Regions from separate parts of the Homo sapiens genome. Here regions 1 and 3 are each linked to region 2. The links are contacts of gene promoters, found by promoter capture Hi-C in blood cells and fetal thymus (Javierre and others, 2016). All regions are on one chromosome and are shown on one strand. The core of a region is centred on a gene start or on the middle of the fragment in contact, and the rest is flanking DNA. Distances in the headings are between cores, read along the strand shown. Region 1 overlaps CUX2 (cut like homeobox 2). Region 2 holds the start of CUX2 (cut like homeobox 2). Region 3 overlaps CUX2 (cut like homeobox 2).

Evidence for each region. Contacts are between HindIII fragments. The CHiCAGO score rates a contact against its expected background, and 5 or more counts as called.
Region 1: a contact is called between a fragment that was not itself captured here and the fragment with the promoter of CUX2 in region 2, in 5 of 17 cell types (M2 macrophages, endothelial precursors, M1 macrophages and 2 more). The highest score is 6.3, in M2 macrophages.
Region 3: a contact is called between a fragment that was not itself captured here and the fragment with the promoter of CUX2 in region 2, in 2 of 17 cell types (M1 macrophages and total CD8 T cells). The highest score is 8.0, in M1 macrophages.

Annotation. Positions count from the first base shown.
Region 1 is chr12:111,210,507-111,213,845 of GRCh38, forward strand. The region is part of intron 1 of CUX2 (cut like homeobox 2); the gene reads left to right. Among named protein-coding and RNA genes, the nearest start is that of MIR6760, 92 kb to the right of the region's middle. The HindIII fragment of the contact is 2,251 bases long and covers 596-2,846 here.
Region 2 is chr12:111,032,280-111,035,625 of GRCh38, forward strand. CUX2 (cut like homeobox 2) reads left to right here and starts at 1,886. Exons shown (of 22, transcript NM_015267.4): 1 at 1,886-1,961. The coding sequence starts at 1,899. The HindIII fragment of the contact is 8,699 bases long and covers 1-3,346 here.
Region 3 is chr12:111,233,513-111,236,739 of GRCh38, forward strand. All of the region lies in intron 3 of CUX2 (cut like homeobox 2), which reads left to right. Among named protein-coding and RNA genes, the nearest start is that of MIR6760, 69 kb to the right of the region's middle. The HindIII fragment of the contact is 166 bases long and covers 1,633-1,798 here.

The DNA of each region.
Region 1 (3,339 bases), core at 471-2,970, 180 kb after region 2:
GCCAAGGCCAGGCACAGTGGCTCACACCTGTAATCCCAACACTTTGGGAGGCCACAGCAGGTGGATTGCTTGAGTCTAGGAGTTTGAGACCAGCCTGGCAACATGGTGAAACCCTGTCTCTACCCCAAAAAAATGCAAAAATTAGCTAGGCATGATGGCACATGCCTATAGTCACAGCTACTAGGGAGGCTGAGGTGGAAGGATCGCCTGAGCCTGGGAGGTCGAGGCTGCAGTGAGCTGTGACTGCACTACTGCACTCCAGCCTAGGTGACAAGAGTGAGACCCTGTCTCAAAAAAAAAAAAAGACAACATTTATTGAACACTTGAAGCTTTACACATCCATATCATTTAAAACAAATGCCCTGAACACCCCCCAGCTGATGGAGACGCAGAGCAGAAGCCCGCTGAAGAGAAGGGCATTAAAAAATATGCCTTTATAATCCACCAAGGAGATAATCCACACCTCAGTTATTAGAATTGACTGTAGTATATTTCCAAGCCCCTGTTTGAATCACCATACAGACAAGACACATTAATGTGTTTGTTCCATGAGATGATGTATGTTAGGAGCTTAGCATAGTGCCTGGTACATGTAAGCTTTCCATAAATGGTAGTTATGAGTATTTACTATTATTATTATTGGTGTTAGTGTGTTTACCAGTGAACTGTGGCAAGAATTCAGGGTTGAAGGACAAGCATAGATTTAGGCAAAATTGAGAAGAACGTGGATGTCAGTGACTTCGTCTGCTCGAGGAAAGACACCAAGGGCTGGGCTTGCAGTGGGGTCAGGGTGAGGGGACTGGTGATATCCCCCTGCCTTCCCTGGCTCTGTTCTCTCTGCAGTGTGGACACAGCAGACATCCTGCCTGTCAGATTTGCACCCACCAGCAGCCTGGGAGGTGCAGGTGGAGGGAGTCAGGCATAATTGTCTGTGAGGACACATCAGGTGGTTGGACTTATCCTGCTCTGCAATTTCCTTTCAGAACCTGGGCTGGATGTTTTTAATGAGAGGCAAAGTTCACCCCCACCAGGTATATTGGTTGCTGCATTGTGGGAAGGCACCAGTGTCCCTGCAATAAGAACATAGTGTCAGACACGGCCGGGTGTGGTGGCTCACGCCTGTAATCCCAGAATTTTGGGAGGCCGAGGTGGGTGGATCATGAGGTCAGGAGATCGAGACTATCCTGGCTAACACGGTGAAACCCTGTCTCTACTAAAAATACAAAAACTTAGCCAGGCTTGGTGGTGGGTGCTTGTAGTCACAGCTACTCGGGAGGCTGGGAGGCAGGAGAATGCCGTGAACCTGGGAGGCGGAGCTTGCAGTGAGCTGAGATGGCGCCACTGCACCCCAGCCTGGGCGACAGAGTGAGACTCCGTCTCAAAAAAAAAAAAAAAAGTGTCAGACACACAATAATCCAAGATAGAGAGCTGTAAACCCATGTCCCAGTTCTGTTTGTCCTGTAGCAATGTGAAAATCACATCTTTGTCTTCAAGAGAGATGAGAAAAACTAAGAAGAGCTGGGAGTACGCTGCTGCAACTCAAATTGACCCTGGCCCTCCAGTTTTTTTCTCTCCTGCCAAGTGAGATTCTGTCCACCTGGCCGCGCCAGTCTACCTTTGTCTATTGCTGCAAACACTGATCTCTCCTGTCACTGGATATTTCGGTTGTGGTCAGTTGTAGTTTCTGTATTAGAAACTGTGATTAGTTTTAAGTGATGATGAACCAGAATTCCCCCTTTTTGCTCATAACACCTTGTTCCTCACCTGGCTTAATCCTGATAAAAACCGGGCTTTTAAACTGGAAGCCCCCATGTACTTTCAAGTGGGAGTACCCTGTGCTTCGGCAAGAATTGGTTTCAGCACCTTGGAGAGCACCTGTTTCCGCTCCCCCACCAAAATAGAGACAGGGTCTCTCTCTGTCACCCAGGCTGGAATGCAGTGGCACCATCACAGCTCACTGCAGCCTTGACCTCCTGAGCTCAAGCAGTCCTCCCACCTCAGCCTCCCAAGTAGCTTGGACTATAGGTAATTGTTCTATTTTTTGTAGAGAGGAGGCCTCACTATGTTGCCCAGGCTGGTCTCAAACTCTTGGCCTCCCAAAGTGCTGAGATTACAGGCATGAGCCACTGCACCTGGCCCTTGCCTCTATTTCAAAGCTACTTTGGTGCCTCTACCTTCTCCCTTCTAGTCTCATAATTTTCTAAAGAAGTTAGACATTTCTCCAGAAATAGAAGTTCCTTCTTGGATTTCTACAAAGAAATCCATAGGTCAGGGACACTCATCCCAGCTTGGGGTGCCAGGTTTATGGTGCTCTGGTGAGCTGCTATTGAGCAGATTTACTGACTCTCAGACATGATATAAGACAATTACCATGCATTTCGTCTCTTAGAGGGAAAAGAATTTGCAGTGGGTTAATAGTACTTTTATTTCATTATCTAATGGCAAAAGTGTTTCATTGTGTGTGCAAGAGGAATGTGTATTAGTGATGACAAATGGGGTCTTTCAACACGGTGCCGGGCCTCATCATACATATGTTAGATTAAAGAGTTCACCCTAGAAATACACTCCCGCATCTGCGTGTGTGTTTTTAATAAATCTGATTGCAGAAATTTATTGCATCACCGGATTTAGGAAATTATGGGGCTTGATTGCTGCAAATATAATCGGATGATATATACAGAAATGCTCCTCGAGTTATGGTCCAGAAAAAAAGCCCATCTCGGGATGGTGCAAGGAAGCAGCCGACCACATAAACAGAGCATTTCTTGAATTATGCAAATGAAATCCATGACAACTCATGGTGAATTGTACTCCCCTTGTGAAACTGCCACCATTAAAGTGAAGAAAGCTTCAAGAGGGGTGATCAAATATACATGCACGACCAGCAGACATTGTCTGTGATGTGTGTGAGCCGAAGCATCCCCCCTTCCATCTCTCTCTCTTTTTCCCTCGCTGGTACATCCTATAAAAACCTGGTCTGATACCTTCCTTGCATATAAGCCAGCAAAGCACCTTCCAATCCATTTCTTCTGAATCCAGGAGTCTTCAATGAAATATTTCTTAGACTTGAAGTGAACCTTAAATGATTTACTGCGAGATACACAAAAGGTCAGCTTACTTCTTATTGGCACCTTCATTTTTCCAAAATCTACTGAAATTAAAAAGCCATCTATATCTTAAAAGGCGTATTTATGAACCTTTAAGTGTAAGTAAGTCATAGTTGGAGCCGTTCCCACCTCTGATATATGAAAGCTGTCGACAGCACTTTCTTCCACTATAATATGCCCATACAATATGCCGCACTTTACTATTTTGACATGGTCTGGAGATGTTTTCTAC
Region 2 (3,346 bases), core at 636-3,135:
TTCCGAAGCATTTATGAAACAATTATTTACATTACATTAAAAACTTTAATTGCCTCAAAGCACGTGCTCTGAGACACAAATATTGGAAAATCATCAAAAATATCCATCATGATTCTCTCTTCTTTATAACTCTTCTAAACTTTATCTTTTTTATAACCCACTGTATTGATCTATTGTCCCAGACCAAGAGTGATGTCAGAAGTCTAGGCTGGGTCATAAAAAGAATATAATTTCCATTTGCTGTCCATAAAAGCAAATCTTTTGATCAGAGAAAAAGGAAAAACATGTCCCCTTTTTTTGAGTGGGGAAGAGGGTGCGGTGCTATGTATCAGGGGAATAAGCCAGAGAGGAAGGGTGACCTCACCTTTAAGGGTGGTGGCAGGGATAGGCAAGGGGGTTGGTGATGGAGGGGGCTGGGAGTATGAGTTCCCCCTGGAGGTGACATCTCACCTCCAGGGGAAGTGGAAACAGAGGACCTCGAGCTTGCACAGAGGCAAAAACAAACAAACAAACAAACAAACAAACAAACAAAAAAGCAGACAGAAAAATGTAAAACAAGAAATCCAGTCACCCCGGTTGTCAAGAGTCCGAAGAATTGCAAAGGACCGGAACCTCCCTCTAGCCATGCTGAAGACCCTCTCCCCAAAGACAATCACAATAAAGGAATGTCATGTTGCAAAGAACGGAGCCCCGGATAATAATGATGATAACAACAGCAGAAACCTCCGAGGTTTTTAAGGATCCGGAGCCCCCACAGCAGGGGTAGGGCACCCTCAACAGTCATAACAATAAAACAAGCCCACTGGGGGAAAAGGCCCTCCAGAGGTTTGGTTCAGAACCAAATAACAAAACCTCCAATAATCATCATCACAGTAAAAGGGTTTCACCTTGCAAAGCTGTGGGGGAGTCCCTATAATTGGGTTAAAGACCCCCCAGATAATAACAACAGAAATCCCTATTCCAAAGGACCTGAGGCCCCGCCCTCGGCCCCCGCCCGTAAAGAACCCTGAGCTACTACTCAGACGAAGCCCCCCTCCCCGCCAATAATAATAATATAATGGCGCGGAAACTGTGGGCGGTGGTGGTGACATTTCCCACGACTCAGTGGCGCCCCCGGGCGGCTCCCACCCTCCCTCCGGCCGGCGCGTCTACGCAGCCCCAAGTGCTGGCTGCGACCCTCGGATCCCAAGCATATCTGGCGATGGAGCGGCGGCAGCCCGAGGCACGTGTTGTGTGTGCTCCGATTGCAAAAGAAAAAAAAATGCATTTCAAACTATTAACTTTTTTTTAAGCGTGCAATGCCGGGAGCTGGGGGTAGACAGGTGCAAGCGGGGGTAGGCGCCCCGCGCGCCCGCCTCCCGCAGCGCCCCCTCCCAAACTTCCCTTTGCATTGATCAGCACGTTACGTCAGTATTGATAAGTTTGCAAAAAGCCAAAGTCAAGTGCAATCGCGCGGCACACCGACCCCGGACTTGGGGGGGAGATGCAGCGAGCGCTCCGCGGGCCCGGGAGCCGGCGGCAGGCAGGGCAGCGGCGGCGCCGGCGCCTCTCGGAGAGGCTGCCTCCCCCCAACCCCTCCCCTCCCACCCCATCCCCGGCTGCCTCCCCCGGGCGGGCGCCGAGCTCCCCGCCCGGCGCGCTCCGCCCGCGCCCTCCGGGGGTCGGGGGGGCGCACGGCTCCCGGGCCCGTTGGCGGCGGCGGCGGCGGCGGCGCGGCGGCGGCGAGGGGCAGCGGGTGGCAGGAGGCCGGAGGGCGCCCGAGGGGCCCCGGGCCGCGGCGCTCAGGGCCCGGGCGGCCGGCGGCGGCCCCGGGGCTGGGGGGAGTCCAGCCCGGATATTGAGTGCAGCCATTGAGAAAAGCCAAACTCTTGTGTGTGCGCGTCTCGATAGCCCCCAAGATGGCCGCCAATGTGGGATCGATGTTTCAATATTGGAAGCGATTTGATCTACGGCGACTCCAGGTTAGTGCGGGCAGCGCCGGCCGCGCGGCCGTGAGGAGCCCCCGGGCGCGCCCTGGGCGCATTGGGGAGGTCCCCGGGCGGGCAGGCGGACGCCCTGGGGCGGCGGGCGGCGGCTGCCGGGGCTCGCCGGGGCTCGGCCGCCCGCTGCCCATCGATAGGTATTAGGAATTGATCTCGCCGCTGCTCTTTGTTCGGTTCAGTCATCGATTAGCTGCCGCGACCATGGAGAAGCGCTAGTGAGCCCTCGGTCGGCGGAGCGGCCGAGCGGCCAGGCGGCCGGGCGAGGAGCGGGGAAGGCAGGGGCTACGGCCTCGGGCAGGGGGCTGCTGGCGGGAACCCCCGGCGGTCCCCCCTGAGCCGCACTTTGCGCGCCTCCCAACTTCGCGGCGCCCGGGGAGGCCGCGGAGCGCGCCGCTTGCCAGTCCGCACCCGGCTGGGGCTCCGGCGAGGGAGGGAGGGAGCTGGCGGGCAGGGAGGAGGAGGAGGAGAGGAGGAGGAGGAGGAGAGAGGAGGAGGGAGCCGGGGTTGGCGAGGAGGCGGCTCCGCGCCCCGCCGCTCGCCGGCACCTCAGCCTTCGCCGCCCGCCTGGCTGCGCAGCCCGGACGCGCCGCCACCCGGGGGCCGCCGCCGCCGCCGCCAGAGCCGCCGCCGCCGGACTGGCCGCAAGCGCCGGCAGACCTCTTCTCCTCGGGCCGGGGTCTTGGGGTTCGTCTTGCTTCTTGCCTTTACCCCCCCGCCCCTTCCATCCCCTTCCCAAGTCTAGATGCAGACGGGCGGTGGAGGTGGGCCCGGGCGCTCGCAAGTTTGCGCTCCTGCCTCCAGGGCGGTGGAGAGCCGGGAGCGGCGCAGAGCAGGTGACTCCCAGCCCTCGGGCCCAAGGGAACTTTTAAATGAGAGATTTCCTTGCTTGTTCTGCCTCCTGCGTTTCTCCCCGCTGCTCCCCTCGTCTCCTCTCTCCCGTCTCTGCTTTTCTTCTGTTTCTTTCCTCTCTTCCCTGCTCTTTCTCTCTCCTTCCCTAGGGCGACTCTTCGAAACCCCATCACTTTCTCCCCATCCTCCCTTTGTGGGAGTCTGTGTGCCTCCCCTAGATTTGGAGGTGTTCTCTGCGGACCCCGTAGGAGCCGGGGCTGGGAGGTGGAATCTCAGAGAACGCACCGTGGAGGCGCGGCTCCGGCCTCTGTTCTTTCCCGGAGTGCCCCGGACGCGCCTGGCAAGGCCCCCCAGCCTTGGAGTCTCGCAAAGTCTCGGCGGGTGCGGCGGGGATCAGGGGCGGGAAAATGGTGCGGATAACAGGGCGGTTAGAGCATCCTGCCTTGACCGTGACATTCGCGGAAGACGCGAGATCATCAGTCTGGAGATAAAAAGGGACCCACTTTTTTTTTTTT
Region 3 (3,227 bases), core at 466-2,965, 200 kb after region 2:
CCTACGGCCCAGAACTGAGCAGAGGTCCTGCCCTGAGACCCAGGGACTGAGACACAGAGATGGGGTGAGGGAGATGGGAGGGGGCGGGGGAGCAAGGGGAGTTCCTATTTCTTGAGCACTGATTGAGTGTCATACTCAGGGCTGGTTATCCGACATCTGGGCTGTTGTGGAATATTCTGGAGAATCCTGAGAACATTGTGTTTCTTTTACAAAGGGGAAACTGATACTCTGATTGAGACACCAAGATCACATACTGAGAAGTTGAAGAGCTAGAATTTGAACCCAGGCCTGTCTGCATTAGTCAAAATGGGCTCGTTTCTGTTGTAACAACTTCAAACACAGATGAGGTTACATCACAGTCTAGCGCTGGTTGATAGAAGTTGTGGTGGGGGAGGCTCTGATCCATGCAGTCATTCAGGGATCCAGGCGTCTACCATCATCTGGTAGGTGGGAAAAGAGGAAAACATGATGGCCCTCCTAGGAGGTTCTCAGGGACCAAAACTGGAAGTGGTCACATCATTTCTGCCCACATTCATTTGTCCAGAACTCTGTTACAAAACCATACCCAATTTCAAGGCTATAGTCTAACATTATATGCCCAAGAGTGGGTAAAAAAACAGAATTAAGTTAGCACATAACCCTGTCTGCTGCCCTGTGGACTCCCTCACAGATAGAGCACCTCACTCACTGTCAGGGAATAGGACAGAGCCCTGAATACACAGCCTTGCACACAGTGGTACATTTTGGACAGGTGAATGGGAATGAAACCCAAGAGGCCTGCCAAATTCAGGGAGCAGCAAAGCAGGAGCAAGGAGGGACTGTTAACAATTTGGCAGATGTTATAAAGCTCCTACTATGCATTCTTCCCTGTGCTGAGCTGGCTAGAGAAAGAGATGAACTCTGTTCAGCAAGGAGGCTGAGCCACCATTGGGATCCCATGCCCAAGGTCCACTTAAAAAAAAGCCAGTGTGCAGTAGGAACAAATGTCCCAGGTGTACCAATGAGAGTGGTTATTTTTTGGGCAGGCAATCAGAGAAGACTTCTGGAGGAAGTGAGGTCCCAGCTGAGATTAGGAAGATTGGGCAGGATGGAACATGGGGAATGAAGAGTGGTGGTGAGCACAGGTCTTGGCATCAGGCAGACCTGGGTTCAAGACCAGTTTGAACACCGGTGAGGTGATCTGAGGCAAGCCACTTCCCCTTTCTTTTTTTTTTTTTTTTTTCTGAGACAGAGTCTCCCTCTGTCACCCAGGCTAGAGTGCAGTGGCGTGATCTCAGCTTACTGCAACCTCTGCCTCCCAGGCTCAAACAGTCCTCCCACCTTAGCCTCCCGAGTAGCTGGGACTACAGGCACACACCACCACGCCCAGCTAATTTTTGTATTTTTAGTAAAGATGGGGTTTGGCCATTTTGGCCAGGCTGGTCTGGAACTCCTGACCTCAAGTGATGCCCCCATCTCAGCCTCCCAAAGTGCTGGAATTACAGGCATGAGCCACTGTCCCCAGCCCACTTCCTCTCTTTCTGACCCTCAGTTTTCTCATCAATAAAACGGTACCTAGTACATAGGTTTGTCAAGAGGTTGAGTGAGCTGGTAATGCATATCAAGTGTTCAGCATGATACTAGCACAAAGAAAGCTTAAAATGAATAATTATTCCCGGATGGCTATTTAGTGAGCAGTGCTGGGAGGCGGGGCTGGGGGAGAGGACAAGGCCAGGAAACACACATGGGCAGGACACCAGGGTCCTGAATGCCAAGTTAAGTCTGCAGTTTGTCTGTGGGCAGAGGGAGGTACCACAGAAGCTTTTTGGATATATAAGGAAGGATGACCGGAAACCAAGTTCCAGAAAGATCTCTCTGGAGGTGTACAGGCAGGAGGGGGCTGACTCAGAGTTGGGTTGTGCTTTGGAGCACTTAAGAATGAGACGAGCGGCCAGGCACAGTGGCTCATGCCTGTAATCCCAGCACTTTGGGAGGCTGAGGCTGGTGGATCATGAGGTCGGGAGTTCGAGACCAGCCTGATCAACATGGTAAAACCCCATCTGTACTAAAAATACAAAAATTAGCCAGGCATGGTGGTATGTGCCTGTAATCCCAGCTACTCAGGAGGCTGAGGCAGGAGAATTGCTTGAACTCTGGAGGCAGAGATTGCAGTGAGCTGAGATCGCGCCACTGCACTCTAGCCCAGGCAACAGAGTAAGACTCCATCTCAAAAAAAAAAAAGAATGAGGTGAGCACTAATGATAACCTGGCCTGGGACAGCGACAGAGGAGCAGCAAAGTGGAGACAGGTTTGAAAGAGTTGGGAAGTGGGGATCCAGGTTGATGTGGCAGGTGGAGACAGAGGGTCTGGGGCTCAGGTTTTGGGGGCCAGTGGGACATGACACCATTAGCAGAAGAGGACCTGGCTTCAGGGAAACAAGCCCCTTTGTTGGATACCCAACCTGTGAGATTCAGTCTGGGAATCCTCCAGGAGCCAGTGGGACCTGGCACGGCCCCAGGTCTGCCTCTCGTCAGCCATATGACCTTAGGCAAGTCATCTCCCCTCCTTGAGCCTCATCTTTCCTATCTGGAAAAGGGGGGATAGTATTTGTCCTTCCCTGATAGGGTTGTTGTTGGAGGATTCCATGACACTATGCCTAGCACATAGTAGATGCTCAAGAAATGATCCTTGTTATCACCATCATTTTTCCCATTGAGACCAAACACTGGGCTAAGAAAGGGCTCGTGCTGAACCAACAGATTCCTCAAACACGCTGCAGACCAAGAATACTGTTCCTAGGAACATCAGTAGCCACAGCAGCCAGATCTCCTGGGTCTCAGTATATATCAGGCTCTCTGCTAAGCTTGCTACACATACTGACTTTAGAAATCATTGTCACAAGCCCCTGGGATAGGGGTTATTATTATGCCTGTTGTAGAGATGAGTGACTGAGGCGTAAAGACCAGGCAGGTAGGAGATGGGACGATCAGCGCAGGGGCCTCAGTTACACAGAGCAGATCTGCTTGCAAGGTGGATAATCATGCTCAGGTCACATGGAGTGTCAGGTCCAGCTCTGAACCCCGTGCCCTGGGGTGAGACAGGGAGAGAGAGAGTCTACAGGAGGCTTCAGGACCACAGGCTGAGGCCTGATTGGCACTGGTTCAAGAGAAATGCCCAGAAGACAAGAAAAAGAAATAAATAATACATCGAGAGGCAATAGGAATTTTATGTTCAATATAATAGGGGGA